Linked DNA regions of Homo sapiens: regions 1, 3 and 4 are each linked to region 2. The links are contacts of gene promoters, found by promoter capture Hi-C in human tissues and cell types (Jung and others, 2019). All regions are on one chromosome and are shown on one strand. Each heading gives the region's core, a stretch centred on a gene start or on the middle of the fragment in contact. The rest is flanking DNA. Distances are from core to core; before and after follow the strand shown.

What was found. Contacts are between HindIII fragments. The study calls those that stand out against the background at their distance.
Region 1: a contact is called between a fragment that was not itself captured here and the fragment with the promoter of KCND2 in region 2, in 2 of the 25 tissues and cell types used here (bladder and lymphoblastoid cells).
Region 3: a contact is called between a fragment that was not itself captured here and the fragment with the promoter of KCND2 in region 2, in 4 of the 25 tissues and cell types used here (IMR-90 fibroblasts, dorsolateral prefrontal cortex, lymphoblastoid cells and 1 more).
Region 4: a fragment that was not itself captured here is called in contact with the fragment with the promoter of KCND2 in region 2 in 3 of the 25 tissues and cell types used here (dorsolateral prefrontal cortex, hippocampus and lymphoblastoid cells).

What each region holds. Positions count from the first base shown.
Region 1 is chr7:120,541,338-120,545,471 of GRCh38, forward strand. The region is part of intron 1 of KCND2 (potassium voltage-gated channel subfamily D member 2); the gene reads left to right. Among named protein-coding and RNA genes, the nearest start is that of KCND2, 270 kb to the left of the region's middle. The HindIII fragment of the contact is 8,795 bases long and covers 1-4,134 here.
Region 2 is chr7:120,271,495-120,275,305 of GRCh38, forward strand. KCND2 (potassium voltage-gated channel subfamily D member 2) reads left to right here and starts at 1,681. Exons shown (of 6, transcript NM_012281.3): 1 at 1,681-3,811. The coding sequence starts at 3,139. RefSeq lists silencers at 768-867, 1,787-1,936 and an enhancer at 2,377-2,446. The HindIII fragment of the contact is 5,227 bases long and covers 632-3,811 here.
Region 3 is chr7:119,951,768-119,955,711 of GRCh38, forward strand. No RefSeq gene overlaps it. Among named protein-coding and RNA genes, the nearest start is that of LINC02476, 46 kb to the left of the region's middle. The HindIII fragment of the contact is 5,067 bases long and covers 1-3,944 here.
Region 4 is chr7:120,560,188-120,564,189 of GRCh38, forward strand. All of the region lies in intron 1 of KCND2 (potassium voltage-gated channel subfamily D member 2), which reads left to right. Among named protein-coding and RNA genes, the nearest start is that of KCND2, 290 kb to the left of the region's middle. The HindIII fragment of the contact is 3,543 bases long and covers 1-3,212 here.

The DNA.
Region 1 (4,134 bases), core at 655-3,154, 270 kb after region 2:
CTTTATTAAAAAAAGAGGTGCTCTGATTGACTATATTTATTAAGATAATGAAGGAGATGAAATTTTTTTTTCCATATAGACCAGGTCGTGGATTCCATCTTTAATGTGAGTCTTTCTCTACCTATGCAAATACCCACACTAAAAGTAGCTGCAACAGGACCTTGTGAAAGAAAGACCAGAGAGTTTACAAGTTCAAATTCCAAAATCCTAAGTCTGGAGAAGGATTTTCTATGCTCATGCCTGAGACTAGCATGTTCCAAGCACAAAAGGTCCTTCAGTTGGCTGCCACCAAGACAGACCATGGTCAACTCATTTTCCAGCTGCCTTTTTGGCTGCATGTCTGGAAGCACCAGATAATCTGAGAGCAGGAGGAGGATCTTGGTCTCAGTGGATTGCATAAGCATGGTGTGATAATTCTTCAGCTCAGGATCAAAGAGAAATGGGCCATATTATGTCACTAATCATCAACTTGTATGTATATGTGTATGTTTAATAATAAATTTGTAGACACCCAGGGCAATTCATTTGAAAGTAGTTTATAACCTATGTCATATTCAATCTTCTATTCAGCATCTTTCTTTATGATGAAGAATAAATCATTATAATGTTCTGAATGTTTACATTAAACACATAAACCATTTTACAGTCATTTATTGATTTAATGTTTCTACGACCTATTTTATTAAATATTTTTAAATACTTTGATATCAGTAACATGGGTCAAGTATTTGCTTAACACAAGTGGGTAAATTAATGGTGCTGTAAATATAACCTGAAACTTTAGATCATCAGGACTTTGTCCTCCAGTTTAAAGGCAATAAAATTAATGACACTGTCACTGTCAATTTTCAGATGATAATATCAATATATTGGATTAGATTCAAATGTATTGCAGTGTGTGCTTACCAAACATTGAGTAATTTGATTGCATATTCAAGTGGTCAATAATTTTTAAGTAATTTAGAATAAGTTTTTTAAGAGGGTTTGGGAGAAACAATCACACTTGACACTATTCATCTGGCTCATTTTTATGTCACCTTATTAGGGTGAATCAGTTATAAAATAAATTGATTTATTTTATTCTTCTCCAAGTGTATAAGTTTTCAACTGTATTGATCCTACATAATTGCATGTAAAATAATAAAATTACCCTTATAAGTCTCCCAACTTCTCTCACATCTACAGCATAAGGAGTGTGACCTAATGCTAAAGTAGCTCGAATTGAAATGCCCTAACCATTCATCCATGTTCTATATAGTTCATGTCAACCTGATTCCCTTTTATTATGAGATTTGTCCTCTCAGTGCCTGATCCCTCAGGGAACCAATTGAATTCTTTTATTTCTAAATAATTGAGGAGACAATCTTACATTTTCCAATGGTCTATTGATAGCCACTGCTTCAACTTGGAAACCTGAGCACATGGCTTGGAAGAGATGGTGAATACCAAAATGATGTCTGTTTTAACAATTCCTTGCATTACAATGTAGCAAATAGCAACTATTTATTGCTCACTTGCTATCAGTCAGGCAATGTAATAAATAGTTCTGTGATAGCAGTCCAGCGAGGTAAGGATTATTCTTGTTAACTGGATCATTTGACCCAACTTACTCTTACGGAAAGTCAATTTTGGTAATTTTGCATCCAGAAAAAGATAATACACACTCCTACATATGCACACATACACACAGCCCTCATACAGTATTGACATGTATTATAGACATTCACTAAGGTTTTATTAAGGAGATAAGTGGTTTCCATTGCATGTTTCGTGGAATTTCTTTAAAAATCCAAGCAACATAACCTCAAAATATATATATATATATCTAACCGATGTTATCTTCCAGATTCTTTCTCTGATATGCCAACATCAGTCCCTATGGTTTTGCCCTTTTTTTTCACTTCCTCTCTGGCTACTTCTGTCTCCTTCTCACTCCAGTTTTATGACCTCCAGGGTTTCCTCATTTTTCCCCAGCAGAGCATGCCTGTTTTTGTCTTCTTTGGTTATCCTCTTACTGCGTGTCGATTTTCCAATTAGGACTAACAACTTTCCCCTTAAGAGATACACACAAAAAAAAGAGAAGAAATTAAAATATTTTAGAATGATTTTCTCTGTCACATTTGCACTTTACAGATAAGAAAAATGTAGTTAAAAATGAATTCCTGAGAAGTCAAGTAGCTTGTTCAGCTGGTTAAATACTTAAAATACTATTTTAATACAAATTTGAATGGGTGATTATATTCCAAAATTTTGTTTTTTTCTAATATGTAACATTGTCTTACTGTGGTACAAATTATGTCTAAACCTATGAGCTTTAAAAAACAGAGACTATTGTAATGTATGTACAATGTGTGCTTTATTTGAAACCCCTACTGATTTTCAAAACTAGTCTATTCCTTTTATCTTTCCTTTTTAAGTAAGGAGTGCATTGTCCATATGGGCACCTACTCTGCAAAAAGTTTGGAGATTTGTTTTCAGCCAATCTGTCTTCTGAATAGTAGCTGTTATTGGACACAACTGACTCTCATCCATTTCTGATAAGAACCCAAATTTTCAGCAATTATTATCTTCTATGAATTTTTTGATTATGTGTATAACTGGGATAGACCATGGCCCTAACCAACTAGTCTGGAAAGTTGTGAGAGAATAGACATGGAAATTACTACATGACTCCTGAGAAAGCAAATACTGATGATTACTGTCTGCTTCCATGACCAACTTGAATTATGAGTTCTGACAAGAAAAAACATTAGAATTAATGGGAAAATGTTTATTCCTCTCTGAACAGGCTACCAAGAAAAAATGAAGATGTTTTTATTGAGACAGGAGTATACTGTAGAAAACAAATTTCTTAAAAGAGTTGAGGTTATATGTTAAGGCAAATTATAATAGGTTAAGAGCAGCAGGAAGCAAGACAGAAAGGTAATTACAGCTGAGAGGATTAATAGAAATTATTATAAATGGCTCATGCTCGGATTATATTATGTGAGACATAGAATCTTATCTTGTACATAGTTTTGAGCAAAGATGTCATTTAATTTACATCTGTACTCTAAGATTTTATTTCCTAAAATGGAGTTATAAGAAGTACTATCATCACTAAAATATTTATTTTATCCCAAATTGAAAATTATCTAAGGAAAGAATTTTAAAAGTATAACCATTCATAAATTAATAATCACTATGCAATCACAGGATTCTGGAATTATTTTCATTAGCGATTATTATTAACCTAAAATTAGCAGTGGACTCTTGACCTTGGCCTTGCAATTGGTTGATTCTTAAAAATGTATGAATCATGGCCACAACTGCAACAATAGTTCAAACACAATCAAATTCTCATGGCATATTTTGCTCTTTGATCTTGGTAATAATTTCTGACCTTGATAATCATTACACGTTTTCCCACAAATTCATTCTCAATGACTTTTGCTCATTTCTTAATTCTTCAGTGACTGAAAAAGCTAATTCATTAATGTGGGAGTTCAAAATCACCTGGTTTTCTTGGGAAATTAAGTGATAAAAGATAATAAGAGATACTGAGTCTAAGACTGCTGAGAATTCCCTTATTTTACCTTGGAAATAAGTGCAAGTCTGATTATTAAAAAATGAAGTTAACTTCTACTTAGAGAAAACCTCTGAGAATATTCAGTACTAGTAGTTCCTTCTTGCTCCTGAAAATGACTTTAGAGATCTTTTCACATTTCTGTAAACTCCTTCACTCTCTTCTTCTCTTATATATTCAAACAAACATTACCATAGGTGTAAATATTTAGATTCTAATCCTAAAACATGTATTTCAAAGGAAAAATGTCTTGCAAAAGAAACTTGATGTATGCTGTCACCATGTGCAGAAATTACTTCTGTTTCCCACCCATCAATCTCAGCCATTCTTTGTGCCTACCACTACAGTAGATAGGTTCTGAGAATGAGATAGTACAAGATCAAACAAAGCAGATAGCTGTCTTCTCAGTCTAATATCATTGATGCTAAGCCAGGTCCCATAGAAAAGATTGGAGAGCCTCAAATTATATGGAGTTATTTGAGTGTTAAAGTATGCCTTATTCAGAAATAACAAAATGAGGATTAAATATCTGGAGAAAGGTTTTCATTATGTAAATTATATGAGTAAAA
Region 2 (3,811 bases), core at 431-2,930:
TCATAGTGCCACCTTACTGTTTGGACTAACGAGGGGTTGGTTTTCTTATATTAATTGGTAGTAAGCCCCTCATTTCCATTTTCCAGGTAACATGCTTGTGTGTTTGTTTTCAGGTATGCAGGCTATATAGATTGGTTAACAAGCATCTTTCACTTAAACAAATAGATAAAGAGCAGGTGTCTTCAGTTCCTTGTCCTCAAACTTAAATGGTGCATTAGCTCTGACTTCATTACTACTGACACAGGATTCCTTAAATCTCTATTCTGTAAACAAATAAACAAACAAAAAATACCCTTTTATCTCTACAGAAAATCCTGTACATGATAAGGATATTTTAAATTCTCTGGTTATTTTCTATACTCATTTTTTAGTTTATATATTTTCTTTGACGTATCCCATTTCAAATTTTCAAGGTTGACACATCATGCCTGTAATCTCTAGGGCTTAAAAGTCAATTTCCGTAAAGTACAACACACAGTCCACTTATTTTACAAACCAAGGGCAGTCAAACCAAGCCATGAAAAGTAATTTTTAGGTAGAAATTAGGCTACTATTCTTCATCAATACAGATGAAGCCTCATTATTGCCAAAGATCTTAATTACTATGATGATGATGATTCAGTAATCTAGATTTAATTTTCAAAGGAATTTCAAAAGGAAACTCTCCACATCTCATCCCACAACTATCCAAATGCAGACTCAAGCCTAAGTAGTATATGTCACATAAACACAAAAAAGGTGGGTGGCAGCGAAGGGGTTTGGGGATGTTTATGTGATCTGACTCTCTGTTGGACCAGTTAATTTTGATCCTTCACCTTCCTAAAGCATCCAAACCTTAGGTGCAGATTTAACTTCTCGCCATCCACGCCATCTAGTGGCTTGTATGTGTTACGTTTGGTTTTAAGGATGATTCCTAATGACTCGGGGGCGGGGTACGCGAAAAACAAAAAGGTTGGTAGCGACAATTTTCCTGTGTCTCTCTACCTCAGTAACCCCTCATACGAACACCTTTAACTCTTTTAACTATTTTAAATATGCGCAGTGATGCGCAGAGAGGATGAAGGGGACGCAAACTTTCAGAGACGCACGCCCCTTGACGATGACATTTAGAAAAGGGCTCCACATCCCTGTTATTCGTAAAGGACGGGAAAAGGAGTTGTGTCAAGACCTCGATCGAGGAGAGTCTCTGATTTTTTGGCAAGTTGGACAGATGGCATATCAATCCCTGCAACGTTAACAATCTGGTTTTGAAAATAAATAAAAACAGAAAGAGGAAATGCACTTAAAAATTCCGCGTCGGAGCTTTGCGGGTCTTGCCTTCCAGTCGCCCCCAGAAGACAACCAATTCCTGCGCATTCCGCTCCGCTCACCCTCCTTCCCAGCTTCTCTCGCTCTCTTTCCCCCCATTTTCCCACGCTCGCCTTGAACCGGGACTCGAGAGGCAGAAGCAAGGCACGGGTCCCCTTTCTCCTCTCCTCCACCAAACCACCGCAGCCCAGCACGTGAAGCTTCCCTTTGTTCATCCGAGGCTCGCTTTTCTCCCCAGCAGATCCACCTGGATGCTCTCCCTCGGTGACATTTTGCGCCGGGGTTGGTGGGTGGCTGGGGTGGAGCGAGAGGAGCCCGAGGGGGCGGGGGCGGAGAAAGGTCAAGCCGAGGGAAAGGCAGGAGACGCCTTTCCTAACCTGCGTGGCGGGGCGTGCGCGCGGTTATTTATTTATTTTCTCCTTATTTATTGATCGCACTAGCAGAGCAGCGCGGGGAGCCCGGGGAGATGCAGGACCACCCACTGGCGGGGAAGCAGCTAGCAGCCCTCCCGCGCCCCCGCGCTGCCGAGCGCCTTCTGCCTCCGCGCTCGGACGAGAGCCCGTGCCGGCCCCGGCCCCGGCCCCACCGCGCCAACGCCGCCCGCCCGGCCGCCCCGCAGCCCCGCCGCCCCGCAGCCCCGCACCGCGCTGGCCAGGCTCCCGCGACAGTGGCCCCGCAGTAAGTTGGCAGGAGCGAGTCCCCTCCGTTCTCGCCTCCCCCGCACCTTTTGAACTTGTTGCTGCTGCTCTGCTCGCCTGCGCCTGGCTTTTGGAAGGTGAAAAGGAGGAGGGAGGCACGGAGGGATGGGGGAAGGGAAAGAAGAGCTCGCTTGAGCTTTATTTATGCTCTCTCGGCGCATCGGATTCGGCTGCTCGCGAGCTGCTTTCTCTCCTCTTCCCTTTCCGGGTGCACGGCGAGGAGAAAGTCTCTATGCAACTAAGCCCCGGCGCGCACTTGGCCAGGTATGTACCGCGGGAGCGGCGCGTTCTGCGCGGAAGCAGATGCTGCTGCCGCCACGGCGGCGGCGGCTGCCAGCTCCTGAGCTCTGTAACTGTCACACTGCACCTGAGCTGAACTTGAAAAGAGAGTGAAGGGGCGATTGGGCGAACGCTTTTGGCAGACACAGAGGGTGTTTGTAGACGTGGGGGAGGAGAATCTCTATTAACGCCCCCCACCGTAACCACTGCACATCACCTCCATCTCTGCAAATACAGCCCGAGGAGTAGAGGCAGCAGCAGCTGGACCCCCAAAGAGAGACGTGGGGCAGCGGCTGTGACCGCATCTCCTGAGCTACAACAACAGGTCGCCTTTTTGAGACTCCTTTGGCGGGAAGGGCTACTTGGAAAGGAAGGTTTGAAAGAGTGAGAAGGGTAGGTGTAAGGGTTCCCTAATTCGTCGAAAGAATTCTATTGGGTGACTCTCGTTCGTCTTCTCTATCCTACACTCCACATACTGACCCTATATTATCCAGACTGTGCCGGGGAGAAATCAAAAACACCTGTTTGAAGAAACGGCTGCACCTGTGTGCTTATTTGTGCCAGAGGGTGGCCTAGCCCACCTGCAGGAAGAGATTTGGCTGGGTTCTGTTGAGGGTGATTGTTAGGACGTTGTATTTTGTTGCCATTATTCCAAATACCTGTCTTGGAGGGAAAGTTGCCCTTCTGAGAACTGTGACTTTACCAGGAGCCCTATCTTGGAATAAGAGTTACACCTCTGGACCACGTTTCTCACTAGTACTTTGCTTGACTGGAGGAAGTGGGTGACTTTTGGCTGCTTCGGTGACCCATTGTAGACGCCTCGTTACCCTTCTTCCTTCCGCTTCAAGTAATCATGGCGGCGGGGGTGGCAGCGTGGCTGCCTTTTGCAAGGGCAGCGGCTATCGGGTGGATGCCTGTGGCCTCGGGGCCTATGCCGGCTCCCCCGAGGCAGGAGAGGAAAAGGACCCAAGATGCTCTCATTGTGCTGAATGTGAGTGGCACCCGCTTCCAGACGTGGCAGGACACCCTGGAACGTTACCCAGACACTCTACTGGGCAGTTCTGAGAGGGACTTTTTCTACCACCCAGAAACTCAGCAGTATTTCTTTGACCGTGACCCAGACATCTTCCGCCACATCCTGAATTTCTACCGCACTGGGAAGCTCCACTATCCTCGCCACGAGTGCATCTCTGCTTACGATGAAGAACTGGCCTTCTTTGGCCTCATCCCGGAAATCATCGGCGACTGCTGTTATGAGGAGTACAAGGATCGCAGGCGAGAGAACGCCGAGCGCCTGCAGGACGACGCGGATACCGACACCGCTGGGGAGAGCGCCTTGCCCACCATGACTGCAAGGCAGAGGGTCTGGAGGGCCTTCGAGAACCCCCACACCAGCACGATGGCCCTGGTGTTCTACTATGTCACGGGGTTTTTCATTGCCGTCTCTGTCATCGCGAATGTGGTGGAAACAGTGCCGTGCGGATCAAGCCCAGGTCACATTAAAGAACTGCCCTGTGGAGAGCGGT
Region 3 (3,944 bases), core at 1,188-3,687, 320 kb before region 2:
TTGCCCGGGGCCAGCAGGGCTGGTCGGCTGCTCCGAGTGCGGGACGCGCCAAGCCCCCGCCCACCCGGAACTCCAGCTGGCCCGCAAGGGCCTCACGCAGCCCCGGTTCCCGCTCGCGCCTCTCCTTCCACACCTCCCTGCAAGCTGAGGGAGTGGGCTCCAGCCTTGCCAGCCCAGAAAGGGGCTCCCACAGTGCAGTGGTGGGCTGAAGGGCTCCTCAAATGCCGCCAAAGTGGGAGCCCAGGCAGAGGAGGTGCCGAGAGCAAGCGAGGGCTCTGAGGACTTCCAGCACGCTGTCACCTCTCACCGGGTTTCTAGGTTTAGGTTTAGCAAATCAAAAGGCAGGGAACATAAAAAGATATCACTGATGACAAGCACATACTCATTTAGTGCAATATTCACATTTATTTTCATTCAACAACCTGAGGAAGAGAGTTAAGAACGAGAAGGAACAGAATTTGAGACACTACATCATCAGGAGTGGTCATCCTCTCACTGCCTTTGAATCACAGATACCTTTGAATCACAACAGAAATAATACTGAACCCCACTACCAATATTTTCTTTTTCCTGACTGAAAAGGACATTGAAATAGATTTACAGTTAGCATTTTACCATTTGCAGAATATCTGATTCTTCATGAGACACATAGAGAAATTAATGTTTGGTGCTTGATTCTCAGTGACAGTATGACTGACCAGGCTAGTGTTAAAACCTTTACTAAGGGCCTGGGGGGTTTTAGGAGCGAGGGATCATTGCATAGAGCCTTATTACTGCTTCCTCAAGCTTTCTTTCCAGTGTAAACCTCTTGTTTACACCAGGTAAAAACATGTTTTTCACTTTTAAAATCTTCTCAAAAACAACATGTTCAAAAACAAGTTTTAAATAAATATGTTTATTACATTACCTAAAAACAATGTTTTCACTTTGACAAAGTAAGATGGAAACACTGCCAAACAAGTTGCACATTTTAGGGCACAGGGAAATGAATCATGCTTCATTCATTTTCATGCAAATTATGTACATTACATGTATGCATATGTTTAGCTACAGTAAGTAAAATAAGTGGCACACAGTTTCCTAAAGTGGTTATACCAATCTACCCGGCCAACTCCGCATATGAGAGATCCAGCTGCTCCATTTTCAAATCAAGACATAGTATTTCTATTTTTCAGTTTCTTAGTTACAATGGTATGTGATGATATAAAATATTTTAATTGCAATATCTTGATTACCAATAATGCTGAATATCTTTCTTTTACGTTTATTTGTGAAGTGTTTGCTTTGCCGATTTTTCTATTTGGGTTTTGTATTTGTCTGTTTTGCTTATTGATTTGAGGAAGTTCTTTCAATACTGTTGATACAAATTCATTGTAATTCAGCTGTTTATAGAATCTTGTGAAATTATTCAAGTCATTTCAATAATTTGAGACTCATTTTATTTCCCAGAAAAAGGACCATTTTGGTAAGTGTTTCTGTGTACTTGTAAAAGGCATATTCAGAGTTGTTAGTTTCAGCATTCTAGATATGTAAACTATGTCTTGTTTTTGAATTTTGTTGTTAAATATTCTATATAATTACTGACTTTTTAATACTTGCTCTATCTGCTAGCAAGTTTCAACATGTTACAGTCTGATACTATAATTGAGCATTTGGTATTTTATTTTCAGATCTTTTTAATCTAATATTTTTTCCATTATATTTAAAGCTTATGATTTGTATGTATGTGTATGGTTCCATTTTGGTTTTCTTGTTATTCAAATATAAAAATTGTTGTCTTCTAGTGGAATACGTATACTTTCAATGTATACATTGCTATATTTGAGTTTTTGTTTGCCATCACTCATTTATTTTCTTATTTGACCCACCTATTTAATAACGTCATCTTCCTCTTCTTCAAGTAAAACTCTGACATTAGTAAAACCATGTATGTCATCATATTGCTGTGGAGACTAAATGAAATAAGCATAGGGTATATTTAGCAGACTCTGATTCATTTAGTCTTCATCATAATATTATACATCATATTACTAATGTTAGAGTTTCAATTGGACAAGATGAAAAAGTTCTAGAGGTAAATGGTGGGGATAGTTGTATAACAATCTGAATGTACTTAATGCCACAGAACTGTATATTGTCGTATGGTTAAAATGGTAAATTTCATGTTAATATGTTTTATCACAATAAAAATTTGGAAGTAAGGCAAATAACTAAATAACTAGCCCAGGATCACATACCTTGTGCTGTATTAAAACTGGAATTTAATCTTATATCTATCTGACTCAAAAAAATGCATATTCTTAACTGATATGGTGCACTTTGATATCATTTAAAATGGTATTTATGTAAATTACAGCCCCCAGTGAAATAGGTTGTATTTAGAATGATATAATTTCTACTAAAAAAACTGAAAAATAGAAATGTTCTGCAAAAGGAGACAATGCTGTTGTGTAATGAAAAAATACCTCAATTGCCATATAATTAAAATCTTGACTAGATATTTGTTCTAGGGAAAATAACTTAATTTTCCAGGGCCTCAGATTCTTGATCTATAAAAGTAGGAAAACACTTTTACTAATTACTATGTACACCTTATATGACAGTTAAATTCAACAACTGATGGTTCATATTCGCTTAAAGATATATTAACTAGAAAAGCTGACACTAGTAGTTGATTGCTTAAATGTATAATGATTGGTTATTGTGTTTGTACTAAATTATGTTAATTAATGTTGGGCTCATAAAACAATGCCCCAAAATATGATGCTTTGGCTTTCTGAGTGCCTTTGATTAAAGAAAATTGAAAGGCATCTGAAATAAGCCCCAAAACCAAGGTCTCTCTACAACCTTTCCCCAGCACCCTGTATCTCTGATCTTCTTTCTTTCCCAAAGTGCTGGAAAGGATTTGCTCTGGAGTTTTCTTAACTGGCTAGAGAAGCTTCATTCCAAAAGAAATGCTAGCGTCTTAAAACCCCTTCCCCAGGTATCTCATCAAATAACCAGGAAAGTTTAACCATTAGAAAAGAGGAGAGACTGGGAGACATCACCATGCACAGAAAGAATTTACACTAATTCTTCTGAGGGTAGCTCTGAGTGGTTGCCTGGAAGACTTATCTGAAGCATAGGACAACCTTTGTTCACAGTGAAGTTCCACCCTTTACCACCACCTCCCATAGAACTCAGAGACACTTTGTCCCAGGCTATTGTTCTTTGGGTTCATTCAATTCCATCTGAAAATAATCGACTCCTGTAACCCCTCATTTTCCCTTCCCTTATAAAGATGGATATATAAGCATCTAGATCTCATTAAGTTATTAGGTAATTATTTTCCTGAGATTCCCACATGCTTATGTGTATTAAATAAATTTGGTTTGTCTTTTTCTCCTATTAATCTGCCTTTTGTCAGTTCAGCTTCAGCAAACCTTCAGTAGGCAGAGAGGAAATTTCCCTCTGGCCCTACACTAAACTAAACATGTAGTTTAAAGGTTTAATTTTAAAAAATACAAGGAATGCGTTTGAGATTTTTTTATATGCTAAAGGAAAAAAAGGTTTTTTTTTATTTTTCTATATATTCCGAAATCAAAGGTACATGTAAAAATATTGGTAGACCTAATGGAAGATATGGCCTCAGTTCTTACTCTGTGCCCAAATGTCGGCAATTCTTCAATACAGAAATTCACATTTGATAAAATATTTCAAGATTCTGGAACACAGAATTTACCCTAACTGGAAATATTCATACTACTACTTATTTTAACTCCCAATCACATATTTTTCTCCTTATCTTACTTCACTTAGCCCATTACAAATAACTGAAATTAATGTGTTTTATTTTATGTTACTTTTAAGTTGTGTTAGCTTCTTTAAAGTGGTCCATACCAAAATGTTAGCTAATTTTATTTTATATGGTAACTGTTTCCTTGGTGGTGTTATAAGTTTCAATT
Region 4 (4,002 bases), core at 191-2,690, 290 kb after region 2:
TGCTTAGTTTCCACAGAAAAATATTTTTCCAAAGTCCCAGAAATCATTTTTGCAGTTCATTTTTATTACACAAAAGCTTGCTGTATATTAATCAGCAGAAGAAATTTTAACTATTCAGTAGTTTTAAAAGGCTACATTTAAGACTTGCTACTTGAAGTGGAATGATGAATCAAATTTGATGTAAAATATTTTGCCTTAAAAAATCCTCCAATGAAATAATCAGACGGAAAAGCGACAGTAAAATGTAGAACTTGTCATTTTTAAGAGCCAATATCATCTTAAATGATAGGGATTCAGTTTCTATGGAGCCCTTCTTGGGCTCAAGTTCAACACTTTAATGTGATAATCAGCTTAAGCTAAAATTTTTTGCACTTTTGGACAGAAAGGTTTCGTGTTTGAAACAGATGCAAATGAATGCTAAGAAAGGAGAAATCTTGCAGAATTCAATTTAAAGAGCTACCTTCCATAAAATTCTGTCTACCGGCCTGTCTCATCGAATGAAGCAGCAGGCAGGGAAACCAAGGTTATCAGTCCAGTATTCTCCTGCTTGAAATTTTCTACACCATGTGTTCCTCTCAGTGTCTCACATTTTAAGCACTGAGTAATTGCTCAAATTTATTGGAATCATAAATGTTAAAAGATTATCGAGACAATTCTAATCCAGTTTGCTAATTTTAGAGAAGAAAATCGAATTCAGAGAAGTTGTATGTGACTAGCTCAATGCTACAAAAATTTGACCAAGGTACCAAAATGTCCAATTGTTATACTGAATGTTGATTAGTCTGTAAGTTAGCCATTAGTACTGTCACATTACTGCGATTTTGCAAACAGTAAAACTAATTAACAAATATACCAATATGTTTGTGATCAAACGATCAATCTTTTGAAACAGTTACCTCAAGAGGATATAGAAACAGTCTAGTAATTTGCAAAATGTTTTAAGTCACCTTTTCAGAACCAGATTTTATGACATTAATCCATTAATTTATTTATGACTTAACAGCATTGAGAGCTTACTCTGCATTCAGCACTGCAAATAAAGAAGTAAAAGATGGTATGTTCTTGTTCTTATGGACAGCAGGAAAAGTAAAGACAGATGACAGGAGAGATGAGTAGAAAATATGGTAAATAAAATTGGAAGATTGATTAGATATAAGCTATGCAAGTGACAGCAGAGAAGGAGAAGGTTATTAATAATAATTTACATATACTATATTAGGCACTGATCTAAGTCTTTATCAAAACTAATCCTCAAACCAATCCTATGAGGTATAACTATTGTCATCTGTATTTTACAGGTGAGGAAACAGATTCAGAAAGGTTGAAAAACTTGCCCAAAGTTACAAGGCTGGGCTATAAACCCAGGAAGATCAACTATAGAGTCCACATTCTTAAACATTAAGCTACCTGATTTTTTTTTTTTTTTTTTTTTTTTTTTTTTGAGATGGAGTTTTGCTCTTGTTGCCCAGGCTGGAGTGAAATGGCACAATCTCGGCTCACTGCATCCTTCGCCTCCCAGGTACAAGCGATTCTGCTGTCCCAGCCTCACAAGTAGCTAGGATTACAGGCATGTGCCACCACATCTGACTAATTTTTTTGTATTTAGTAGAGACGGGGCTTCACCATGTTAGTCAGGCTGGCCGCGAACTCCTTACCTCAGGTGATCCACCTGCCTCGGCCTCCCAAAGTGCTGGGATTACAGGCATTCGCCACTGCACCCGGCCGCTATCTGATTTTGATAGACTACTTATGAAGACTTGAGAGTCTAAGCAGATAACAGTATTTCTGAAATAAATTGGGTATGAAGGAGTAGAAGTTGGTAATGAGGAAAGGAAAAAGATGGTCAGTTTCTTTATTTGGACAGATTCAACGTATCTGTTAATGAGTCAGCATTTGTAAATATTCATCAAGGCTGCAGACATCTCTTTGAAAGTTATAAGCGCAAGAGGACAAGAGGTAGCAGTTAAAAATATGAATATGGCCAAGTTTCCTCAGAGAGCATATTGAGTGAGAAATGGGGTTCCCTGAAGTACAAACACCAACATTTAAGGAAATATAGCAGAAAATAAGACAACAAAATTAACTGAGATAAAGATGTCAAAAGGAAAAAATAATAAAACATGAGAACGTTATATGAGGAATTCAAGAACAAGGGCATGTTTCACGGTATTGACTTTAAAGAGAATTCAAGAAAGACAAGGACTAAACATTGGGAGTTGATAACAAGGAAGTTATTCCAGCAAAAGAGTAAAAAGCTATTCTGTGGTATGTAGAAGCATGATTTTGAGGTGGTCAGGAGTTAGTGACAAGATGACCTCCTTTGAAGAAACTTTATTACCAAGTGAAAAAAATAAGAGTGAAGGGAAGCAGAAAAGGATTTTTTTTTCTGAATAATCACATCTTCATGTTTGTATAAAAGAGACTGCATCAAGTTGATATCTCACTTTTAAATGATAAACTTGAATTGTATTCACAAACAAAAAAGTCTCTTAAGGGGAAATTATTTGCCAACATTTGAGACATTTAAAAAAGTATGTTGCAAACCCTAAGATTAATTCCATAAAATAAAACTCAGATATATTTTAGTAAATGTACATAGCACCAGAAACTGCACTTGGCTCTAAAGGTCAATAATAAGCAAATACAGACACAGTTCAGAAATGAATTTTTGTTAAACAAAGATAATATGCCAAATTACTATAAGATAATGAAAGAGAGCATATTTCATTAATAAATTATATAAGGTAAAGTATTTTTTGAAAAGATATTTGGCAGCTGCAATAATATTTAGAAAAAGAAATGCTTCAATCTATCTGCAATACAATTAAATTTGGATTAGAAATGTCATGCAATATGGAATTTGTATATTCTTGGTTTATTTTAGACCCTGATTAAGCCATATCTTGTTTATCATAGTTAGAGGTTCTAATGTTATTAACGTTTCTTCTAAAATAGGATTCTGACACATCTATAAGAGAAAAGCTTGATCACCATTAGACAAATAAGTAAACATTCCCCCTTTCCATTATTATAAAGAATATGCACATTGTAAGTTCAAGAATAGTTTAGAAAAAAAATACTGAAGTAGTAAAGGGCCCATAAAACCCTTCCTCTTGTATTTTCTATCTCAGATTGCAACACTGTTCACTTAATTACCCAACATGTTAGAAACTGTGCTATACCTTCATTTCCCCATTGCCCGCATAAATCACTACTCCCATTCAGTTCTACTTGTGTATACATGAAGCCTAGCTATCATCTAGATTTGAGTTATCATTTTCTTTAGTCTTAGAACAAATCAAACTGCTTTCAATTCTGCTCCGTCTCAATCTCAATCCATTCCACAGACCTAGGGATCATTCTGAAATGGAAATCAATATCTTCAATGTCTTTTGATCATCAACAGATGGAAGCTCAAGATTCTCAACATGATTTTAAAAAGCTTAATGATCTGACTCATGTTTTCTTCCATCTCAACATTCAGGCCAAACTGAACCCTCACAGTATTTCAAATACTCCAGGCAGAATCCTATTCCAGCCTTTGCAGAAACTGGCCCCTCTCCATGTAATACCCTATCCCCATCTTGCCAACTTCTTTACCAGGCTAATGCCTACTCTTCTTTCATTTGCCCAGATAGATATCTTCTATACAAATCCTCCCTCAAAGCCACCAGATTGAATTAGGCATTTCTCCCAAAGTTCCCCTTGAAGCCTTTACTTATCCCATCAGAAAATTTATAAAACTATGCTGAAATTGCCTCTTTACATATAATCTATCTACATGAGGCAACTTAAAGACAAAGTGTTTGTCTTCTTTACTTTTAGACATATACCAGCAGAAGAATAAACAAATAAGAAAAACTCATTTCTATATATAATATACCAATAAATTTGGACAAATAACTTTCCACAAGCCTTTGTTTACACATCTGTAAAAGCATGGAATTACAGAAAAGAGAAAAAGGTATAATAAAGCTAGAACCCATCAGTAATAAGGCAAAT